Regions from separate parts of the Homo sapiens genome. Here regions 1 and 3 are each linked to region 2. The links are contacts of gene promoters, found by promoter capture Hi-C in human tissues and cell types (Jung and others, 2019). All regions are on one chromosome and are shown on one strand. The core of a region is centred on a gene start or on the middle of the fragment in contact, and the rest is flanking DNA. Distances in the headings are between cores, read along the strand shown. Region 1 overlaps NF1 (neurofibromin 1). Region 2 holds the start of OMG (oligodendrocyte myelin glycoprotein). Region 3 overlaps NF1 (neurofibromin 1).

The links. The method cuts DNA at HindIII sites, captures the fragments that hold promoters and counts their contacts. A contact is called where the count stands out against the background at its distance.
Region 1: a fragment that was not itself captured here is called in contact with the fragment with the promoter of OMG in region 2 in 1 of the 25 tissues and cell types used here (mesendoderm cells).
Region 3: a fragment that was not itself captured here is called in contact with the fragment with the promoter of OMG in region 2 in 2 of the 25 tissues and cell types used here (hippocampus and mesenchymal stem cells).

Annotation. Positions count from the first base shown.
Region 1 is chr17:31,330,147-31,333,484 of GRCh38, forward strand. It overlaps NF1 (neurofibromin 1), which reads left to right. Exons shown (of 58, transcript NM_001042492.3): 39 at 150-352. Among named protein-coding and RNA genes, the nearest start is that of EVI2A, 10 kb to the left of the region's middle. The HindIII fragment of the contact is 3,100 bases long and covers 1-2,800 here.
Region 2 is chr17:31,295,982-31,299,657 of GRCh38, forward strand. OMG (oligodendrocyte myelin glycoprotein) reads right to left here and starts at 1,258. Exons shown (of 2, transcript NM_002544.5): 1 at 1,175-1,258; 2 at 1-356. The coding sequence starts at 350. The region is part of intron 36 of NF1 (neurofibromin 1); the gene reads left to right. The HindIII fragment of the contact is 15,224 bases long and covers 1-3,676 here.
Region 3 is chr17:31,250,311-31,253,966 of GRCh38, forward strand. NF1 (neurofibromin 1) reads left to right here. Exons shown (of 58, transcript NM_001042492.3): 31 at 2,628-2,690. Among named protein-coding and RNA genes, the nearest start is that of OMG, 45 kb to the right of the region's middle. The HindIII fragment of the contact is 3,539 bases long and covers 293-3,656 here.

The DNA of each region.
Region 1 (3,338 bases), core at 1-2,500, 34 kb after region 2:
ATTATAACATCTTATTTCTAACTGATCATAAAATTTAAAAATAGTTGATCATACTTTGTAACAGAATCACAAATTGTATGTTATGAAAAAATTTTGGAACTATAAGGAAAAATACGTTTTAAAACAACTTCATTTGTGTTTTCTCCTAGGTCAGCTGCCTATAATCTTCTGTGTGCCTTAACTTGTACCTTTAATTTAAAAATCGAGGGCCAGTTACTAGAGACATCAGGTTTATGTATCCCTGCCAACAACACCCTCTTTATTGTCTCTATTAGTAAGACACTGGCAGCCAATGAGCCACACCTCACGTTAGAATTTTTGGAAGAGTGTATTTCTGGATTTAGCAAATCTAGTAAGTAATGATAATTTTCTTTAATACTAACAATTATTCTAAGAGAATTCAAAGAAAACCCTTTCATTTCAGAATTTTCCAGTGAAGACTTTCACTTACATTTTTACTTTTTTTCCTCTTCTGATTTTATATCTGTGGTATCCTGTAACTGAAGGAACTCTGAAGGAACTTTTTGGTAGGCCACATTGAGAAATCCACCAAAATTCTGATAATAAAAGCAAAGCGGCAAGAGTTTGGTACTTTACACACCTCTGGACCACTTACAAAGTATTTTCTTCACTGTTGCAGTTTAATTAGCTTCAGCATTTCTCTTCATAGCAGAAAAGTCCACATAAGTATCCATGTTGCCTCCTTAATTTTAGAGAACTAGTCATTTTCTCTTTTCTTTAGGTTGACTTTGAACAATGAATTTATTGTAAATGTACAGTTCACGGAGAGCACAGTGGCACATAATACAGGGCCCAGAGTCAGTTCTGACTTTGTTTTAACTAAGTCTTATAAATTTAATATCCACTCTTTATATTTGTCCATCTTTATATCCTATAGTTTTATAAATGTTGATCTTCTCCCAGCATATTTCCTGACCTTTTCTTCCCTTTCCTTTCCCTGTAATATATAAAACTTTTTTTTCTGCATTCAAACACATTTCTTGACTTTTATATATTAGATAATTAAAAGCTTCAGCAATTCACTAAGACTCTTTGTCAGGTAAGAGATGTAGGACTATAACCCTAACAAAAAAATGTGTAGGACTGACAAAACAAGAAAAGTATAAACTTTATTCATAAATATTAATATGAGAGAAGATTTGAGTGAATGTAAAGGCATATTGTGTTCCTGCATGAACAGTTCTTCCCAGATTATTACAAATTTAATGTAATTTCATCAAAATAACCATGGGATTTGAGGATTGAGAATGGAGATAGAACTTAAATGATTCTAAATTCTACATAAAAGTGCAATAATAGCTAAGAAAATATTGAAAGGAAAGAGACTTGAGACTTAATAGTACAGATGTCTGAACACTTTATAGCAGTACAATAATTAAAACATACATGTGCAAGAATCAGCCATCAGATCAGTTTAAGAGAAACAGATTGATAAAGAAGCATCACAAACTGATGAGGGAGAGATTAAATCATTTAATAAATGAGGCTGGGAAATGACTTAAATTAGGTCTTCGTCTTCACCGTACACCATAAGATACCAAGTATGTTCTGCCTGTATTTAAGAGTTGAGTAGGGCTGTGTGTGGTGGCTCTCGCCTGTAATCCCAGCACTTTGGGAGGTTGAGGCAAGAGGATTGTGGCAGGAGGATTGCTTGAGCCCCAGAGGTCAGGGCTATAGTGAGCTATCATCGTACCACTGCACTCCAGCCTGGATGATAGAGTGAGACCCTTCTCTATTAAAAAAAAAAAAAAAAAAAAAAAAAAAAAAAAAAAGTTGTATATAAAAGCTTGGAACCATTTTAAAAAGAAGAGGAACAAGTGAATATTTAATTGCTTTCTAGATGAGTAAGGACATATGAAGTAAAAAAGTGATAGGATGAAACAAAGGAAATAGCGAACAGATTTGACTACATAAAACTTCAAAACATAGCTACTCAAAAATAAACACAAGTGAAGATAATTAAAAACTAGGAAATACACTTGGAGCAAATATGAGAAATGATTAATATCCTTAATCGGCCAGACGCGGTGGCTCACGCCTGTAATCCCAGCACTTTGGGAGGCTGAGGTGGGTGGATCACAAGGTAAGGAGTTCGAGACCAGCCTGGCCAATATGGTGAAATCCCCTCTCTACTAAAAATACAAAAATTAGCCGGGCTCGGTGGTACATGCCTGTAGTCCCAGCTACTCAGGAGGCTGAGGCAGGAGAATTGCTTGAACCCAGGAGGCAGAGGTTGCAGTGAGCCGAGATCACTCCACTGCACTCCAGCCTGGGCAACAGAGGGAGACTCTGTCTCAAAATAAATAAATGAATGAATAAATGAATGAATGAATGAATAAAATCCTTAATCATGAAGGGTGCTGACCGATTAATAAAAAGTGGATTAACAGTAACATACAGATCATGGTTTTTTTTTTTTTTTTATTATACTCTAAGTTTTAGGGTACATGTGCACATTGTGCAGGTTAGTTACATATGTATACATGTGCCATGCTGGTGCGCTGCACCCACTACTGTGTCATCTAGCATTAGGTATATCTCCCAATGCTATCCCTCCCCCCTCCCCCGACCCCACCACAGTCCCCAGAGTGTGATATTCCCCTTCCTGTGTCCATGTGATCTCATTGTTCAATTCCCACCTATGAGTGAGAATATGCGGTGTTTGGTTTTTTGTTCTTGCGATAGTTTACTGAGAATGATGGTTTCCAATTTCATCCATGTCCCTACAAAGGATATGAACTCATCATTTTTTATGTTTTTTAAAAAAGAATATTTGTACAAAAAAAGAAAAAAGCCAGGCACCATGGCACATGCCTGTAATCCCACCTGCTCAGGAGGATCGCTAAGCCCAGGAGTTTGAGACCAGCCTGGACAACATAGTGAGGCCCCCATCTCAAAAAGAATATTTATATTTTAAGAAATTCACTAATAAAAGCCAATTGAAAGAATAGTGAGATAATCAGTTATCAGCTTGGCAAAGATTTTTTTTTTAAGATCCATTCCTGGTGGTCTGTGGAATTGTGAGTAGAGGCAATTTTTCTAGAAAGGCATTTGGAAGTGGATAACAAGACCTTAAGACTATTCATACCTTTTGGCCTCATAATTCTGCTTTTTAGCATTTATCCTAAAGAATTAATGTTAAAATGTTTATTATAGCATTATTTTTATGTAGATTTTTAAATTGAGGTATATCTTGTCATCAGTAAAGTGCAAGATCTTAAGTCAACAGCTTGATGAACTTCTACATGCAAATACATCATGAAAGTATCTCCAGATCTAGACATAGAACATTTCTAGCATCCAGAGGGATATTCTCA
Region 2 (3,676 bases), core at 8-2,507:
GATTTGTCAAGAAGTTTAATGTTGTTGTTAGCAGCAGACATGTTCCACAGAGACCGAGGTAAGTGAGCAGGCAGGCTTTCAAGCCTGTTGTTTGAAATGTCCAGGGTCCTCAGATTGGTATATTGGGTTAACTGGTTATGCAGATCAGTAAAGTGGTTATAAGACAGGTTTAAATGTATAATATTCTCTTGCAGTCCAGATGGTAATGTAGACAAGTTTCTGCCTGAACAGTCCACATGCCTGTGCCTCTCTGTGCATATACATTGGAGAGGACAAATGCATAAAATACCAGGTGTGAGAAACAGAAGGATGAACAGGCAGAGAGACATTTTCAATATCTGATATTCCATCAAAGCCTAGAAACAAACAGATACACCCTTCTTTTAATATGCAAATACAGTTTAGGCATCTGCATGGGTCAGTTAGCATTAGGCAAAATTTTCAATAAACCTCGTTGTTGTCGAGTCCTTTTATAATTGTTCCAGTGATTAAACTAACAAAGCTCCCCTTCATTTATAGTCCAAATGCTTAATCCTTCAATTGGGCTATGTGGTAGAGAGAGACTCTCTCCCTACTCTCTCCTGCATTTTCTCCTTTATTTTCTCTCTCCCTCCCCCCTTTTCTAACCATATTCTTTCTTATTTATCTTTCTAGAGCCTTAATATGATAAAATAGCATTCTTTGCAAATAAATAGTTGCAGTTGTAGGCTATTACTATTTTTGATGATATGCTTTCTTACTCAGATGAGAAAAAATGGCTGTCGTGTCTTTTTTTTTTAATCTCTGCAGTAATGTAATTCAATGTGTGTATATAGGGTAGATTTTATTTAGATATTAAAGCAGTTCTTCGAAATTTTATCTGTATGTTTTTAGGATAAATATATCTTTGTAAAAAGCACTTGAAAAATCCAGACCAACACAGTACCTATAAACCTCACATTTTATAAAGTGATTTTTTTCTGTATATTTCAGTGCCCATTTTAAAGGAAAACAATATGTATATTTACAGAGTGACTGAATGTATAAAAAATATCCCTCAACTGACACTGCAGCAAATTTCTGGTGCATGCACTTGCTATTGAATATATATTTAATCCTAACGTTGACTTTTTCTTAAAAGAAAAAGGAAAAAGATTCCAAAGTCAGCCTTTTACTGATTTAAATAACATCTTACCGTGGTGTCGTCTTCAACATCAGCATCTCATTTTCTCTGGGAAACTTAAAGGTCGTCTTGTTCTGTAGAGTCGGAACTGTTTCTGGCTGTGGGCTGTGCTTGCCTGCTCAGCTGCATTGTGTTGCTGTGAGCTGAAGCTCTGCAACCACCTGATCAGTACCACATAGGAGGACTGCAGAGCTGTCGCTGGTGCTGACTCAAATTTATGGCAAGAGGTGCACACGCAACAAAATGGACAATTTTTTAAAAAATTTGTGGCATCAAGCGTACCTATATATCTGATTTGCTATAGGATGGGATACCTTATGCATGAGAGTTGGCCCTTACTCCTTTCTATGTATTTGTCTGAGATTGGGTTCCATATTTTAACATTTGCCTCATTAAGAATCTGTGAATTTTTAAAATACCTCTACTCTTTATCCTTTTTACATGTTGAAAATAAATTTGACCTTCCTCATGGATAGTTTTCTATGATATTAGTCCCACTATTTTTTAACTCCTGCCTTTTTATATTCCTTTCTAAAATTGTATAATTTTCATGTCACTTTTTTAATATTATAAAAAATCTGTTTTATGACTTTTATGTCTTCCCCCAACATGGTGATTATTATGTTTAATCAGCTTTTCAAATTTATCAACCACTTAAGTGTTCCGTCTTCCCTTTTAGGATGTATAGAAGTACTGAAATACGATTATTTTTTCTTTATCTTTCTGATACAATGATCATTTGACCAAGGCTACACACAAGCCAGGATACATTTGGAAATTAGCATCTTATACTTCAGATTATCAGTTCCTATGTAAAATAAACATGTTTTATTTTATATATTTGGAGTTAAAGTTTTTTTTCTTTATGCAACCTTGGGTGGTAAGTGGATATGAGTATTGTTTTTTCCAAAGACATTTTTGGTGCTGTATGAATGACCATTTATTTGATTTTATGTTTTAAGAATAGCAGTATCAATTTAGGTGATTTCAGAGTGTTGCACATTTCATCTTTCTGGGAAAGTAGTTTATAGTTTTAAAATTACATGAAATGATATAAAAGGAAAATTTTTCATCATGAGTTTTATAAAGTGAGATCAGATTTATGATAAATTTTGCTCCACTCTTCAGTGGACTGCTTGTGTAAATCTGTTAAAACACAAATCTGATTTCCAGAATGGCAAGTTTAAAGAAAGCAAATAAAGTTACGGTATTTTCGTTACCAAGTGGCACCATTTAAAAACGAGTAATATTTAGCATGTTATGTGTAAGGAAAGTCTCTTTATGCCTTGTTACTAAATCGTTTGTTTTTCTCTAAATTATATTAGCATTATTTAGATTATACCACAAATAGAATTTGTTGTATTAAAATTTGAAGTTTATTTTCTTACAAGAGAAACTATACTCTAGGAGCCACCTTTTGTATAAAACTAATGTTCCTCGAAAAGTATCTGCATTTTAAGAGTCCGCAACATAGAAGTTTATTGTTGATTGGGTGCTTTATTGCCACTTTACTTTGAGGGTTCAGTTGAACTCTCAATTGGATTCTTACTGTGGATTTAGGAAACCAGCCATCAATCATAGTGCTTAAAATAATGTGTTAAAAATACTACATTCAGCAATATTGTGGAAATAGGGAATGCATTGACATTTAGAGTTCTATTTAAGCTCATATATACACTGCTGCACTTCTAAAGATGTGACTGAGGGTCAATTTACCGACCACTTAAATCTCTTAATTTTAGGAAACCTCATTAAGTCAGTGTAGAAGTAGAGTTATGCATTTTCATTACACTTAACAGTACTTTTGTTTGAAAGAAAAGACATGTTACTTCATTAATGGATTCAAATGAATTTGGGTTTAGGCTGTATCAAGTTTAGTTTCTGTTGTATATAATAGAAAATTCCAGTGCAATAGTAGTGGCAATGTTTCTCATTTCAAGTTTGGGACATACCAAATTGCTTCATATTATTCAAAGATTATTGTAAAATTCTCAAAAAGAAAAAGGGAGATCATTTCAATATATTTGAATTCTAACAATCTCTTACACTGGGTGCAGCACACCAGCATGGCACATGTATACATATGTAACTAACCTGCACGTTGTGCACATGTACCCTAAAACTTAAAGTATAATAAAAATAAATAAATAAATAAAAGAAATTCTCATGAAATAAAATAATACTGTATTACTGTTACTCAAAAAAAATATTTTTTAGAGGCATAAGTATGTGTTACAACTTATTTTAAATATTATTCAGACTCATTACATTTTCTATTAGGCTGTCTAGGTCAGTAATGATAGTTAGGCAACTTTTACATTCTAGATTAAGCAGTAAATTAATTTACGTATTCTTTTGTGTCCTAGGATATATTACCCCAACATTGTGAAAGGTATCACAAAGCATCTGCCAAGGAATAGCTATCCCACGCTAATCAGTGGTTTCAGTTTTCCATTATTATAGGTAACATTTGCTATGCTTGAGAGTCAGATATTGTTTATTTTTGGTAATATG
Region 3 (3,656 bases), core at 812-3,311, 45 kb before region 2:
TTTGGGCTGTATTCAGGTTTCTCTTTAAATTTTATTTAGTAATTGTTCTATTGATGAAACTAGGCAGACAGGAAATAGCACATATTAAAAATAGTCTGGGTCAGCTTCTTGGTTGGCCTAGTAGTAACTGGTTTCAGAGAGCAAGTGGGTTTCTAAAATGACAGAGGCTTTGACTTTAGCTGGTTAAAAGTGAATGGGGACTGACTACATGATTACATGGTCTAGGAGATTGTAGTAGAATTTCTTCATGTGGTTGTCATCCTAAAAGAAAAATCTTTTTGTATCATGAGCAAAGTTGGAGACCGTTTTGAGACCATGATTCTAATAATGTAAAAGGAACAGGTCTTAGCACTTATTTAGTACTTAGGAAATATTTAATGAAGAAATAAATTTCCCATCCCTCCCACCTAAGTAAACAAGATTCTTGCCAGCTTTCACAGCTAAGAAAGGAGGAAAATAGTGAAAATAGATTTTTAAACACTATATGTGGTGATTATTAAACAGTATGTTATGCTTTTTAGAGCACTTCACAGTAAAATATCCTATATTATTTTAATAACAAACCTGGTTTATTATGTTAAAATTTCACATAAAATTATTATCTTTAAAAACATGAATTAAAGGTGGTATCAGTGCATTGTTTAAGTATTGGGTAAAAGCATTGTTGAAGAGCAGAGACAGCATGCTGTGTTGTTATTAAATAAGGCTTTATTTTTTAATTAGTAACTGGTAACAGGGAATGTTACATTTACTGATTAGAAAGAAAGATAGGAAAAAAGCTTTGGTCTCAAGATAGTATTTTATTGAGTCTGCTTCCCAAACCTAGTTTATTTCTTTTGGTTTGCTCTTTTGTTTTTATTCATCTTCCCTCTTCTGGCTTTTTCTTGCCCCTTTGCCTTTGGCAGTAACAGAAAGGTACCTTCCTGCTCTTCTGTGTTCTGCCTGGAGGGATAGTAGTCCCTTTGGGACCTACTGGGGAAATGTTGAAAGGGAAGTGAGTATATTGCTAGCTAATAAACTTCCCTGGACTTTAGCTCCTTTTTTGAGTTCATATCTTGGCCTTTAAGCCTTTTCAAATCATGTGTTAACCAGCTCTATTACTTTATATACCTTCCTTCCTTAGTTGACTGGATTAAGGTTATTTAAGAATAGCCAACTGTGAACATGTGTCAGATTTATAATTAAATCATTTTCTCATGTGTTGTTTTCACTTCTCCTGATGGTTTTAGGATAAAGATAAAATGATTCCCAAAGTGGATATTCTCGTATGGTGAGAGAATTCTAAGAACTAATTTATGATTCTAAATAAATCTCACCCTTTTTCAGTAAATCTGCTTCTCCAAACTGAAGTAGTTTACACACAGTTTTAAGGCTATAAATGATAGTTATATACCACTGTTACTAATACATTTGTATATAGTCTAAAGTTTGAAACAAAGCTCTGTGAGCTAAGGGGCTGTGTCTTGTTGTTTTACTGCTATTTCCCAATGCCTAGAATGGTATTTGACCTGTAGGTACACAGTAACTCTTTGGATGGATGAATGGGTGGGTGGATGAATGGATGTCTAACTAACTTAAAGCCCAAGTTATGGGTTATGGTGTTGGATGTCCAGAATTCCCAGAATAAGATGCCATCTATTTGTGGATTAAATAATTCTAACATGGTTTTAAAAATATTTTTAAAATAATTATTCTGCCTAGGCTAGTCCAATCAAGAGTCTTTTAATTTTGAAAGAAATCTTTGGTCTAGAAAGAGCTCTGAGAGATGAAACCAATATGTGCCTGGAGTTTTGGGGGTTTTTTAGGTGGCTTTTTTTTTTTTTTTTTTTAAGATATTTTGATAAATGGTCAACTGTAATATGTGAAAAGTTTTAAGCAGGCCTACAGTTTTGTTCTGTAATTTTCTCTGCAGTTTCTTCACTTTAATAATATTAATGCTTCTTACTAGTTGAGCTGATAACCTTCTTCTCCCAAATGTTGCAGAGCTTTTAACCTCCTCTGATTAGAACCATTTCAGGAAGTAGCCTGCAAACATTGAAAAATATGTGAAATGTTAAGAGTAATCTTTTTTAGAGAGAGAGGTCTTTAATTCAGAATTTCTAAAGTGAATTTTTATATTTATCCATATAATTTTTATTTCTTTATTCAGTAGGATCATAATTAAATGCCAGGTGTTGGAAAAAGAACTTAAAGTCAATTGAAGGATACACAGAGAAGAATTTTACATACCAAGAAAAAATTATGTAGACACAAATGTTTTTAGTGTGTGATCTACTTGTAATGAATATTTTATATTACATTTCTCAAAAGCTAGGAATTAACCAAAATGTAAATATTTAATATCCTCAAATTCACTTGGAGAGAGTTTTTCTGTGATTCATAGCCAGAAATAGTAGACATGATTGGGTCTCAACATTTCTTGCTGTTTTAGTGCTTGGCTTAAAAATGTAATAAAAATTAAAACCCAGAATTAAAATTCATTCCTCAAAATTCAGTTGATTTCTAATTTTTTGTTGATTCCATTTGTGTTACATTTTATGGTGTAATTTTATGTACAAGCCAACATTGTTTTTGTTGCTGTATGTAGTCGGTGCTGTGACTTGTTTGTGCTCATCTCTGTTCTGTAGGCAACTTGCCACTCCCTACTGAATAAAGCTACAGTAAAAGAAAAAAAGGAAAACAAAAAATCAGTAAGTTTGGAGAACTTTTTATTAGCTGTTTCTTTCAAAGCAAAACAAAAATCTTTTGCTGTTTGTTAAGAATATCTTCACTTCAGCCTATTTGACCTTCACTGTAAAATCATTCTACTAATTCTGGCACAAAATAGCTTTCATTTCAATTAACCCTGGAATTAAGTTACATTGAAACATTCTCTGTGTTCCTTTGGTTTGATTTATCCCAAAGGCAATTTGTGGGCATTTGTTGCATTGGATATCCTTGGTCTAATTTTATTATTGTTACTTTTTAAATTATAAATGAATGCAAAGAAACTTAATTTCAAGGCCTTAGGAAACGCTGACTGTCTTCATTCTTGCTTCTTGTTTGAAGGTAATGTGAGTGGTTTCTTTTCCCAGAGATGACAGTGTTTCTTAATTGTTAGAAGTATATGGTGGGAAAGAGTCACTTTCTAAATCTTACCTAAAAGTTGCTAAATTTTATTTTTTTACTCTTCATATTTTTATCTAGGCAGTCTCAGGCATAATTTAGATATTTGTGCATAGATTATAGAAATTTTAATGGTAAAACTACTTTTACCTCAAAAAAATAAGAGGTAAATGATAAGATAGTACTTTTGAGATAAAAGAAAACTGAGTTCATATTTGTAGAAAAACACATCATTCTGCAAACATAATGTGAATATACTATCTGCTTCTATGAACTTGCCTTGATTTATTTAAAAGGAAGAAAATTATGAGAGTCGTAATTATTTTCTTCCAGTGAATGGAATTTGTCCAAAATATAATATGCATTCATTTTACATTTGCCATTATCTGTCACAGTGACTTATCAGGCTGAGCCCTGTCTTTGTTCATATAATCCAAATGATTGTAGAGTAAGATGTAAAGAAAACTAAGTAGGTAGTTTTCTTAAAAGGGTGTAATTTAGAATACAGTGTTCATCTGGTTTCATCTTTCATGCCTTATCTAAACTTTACA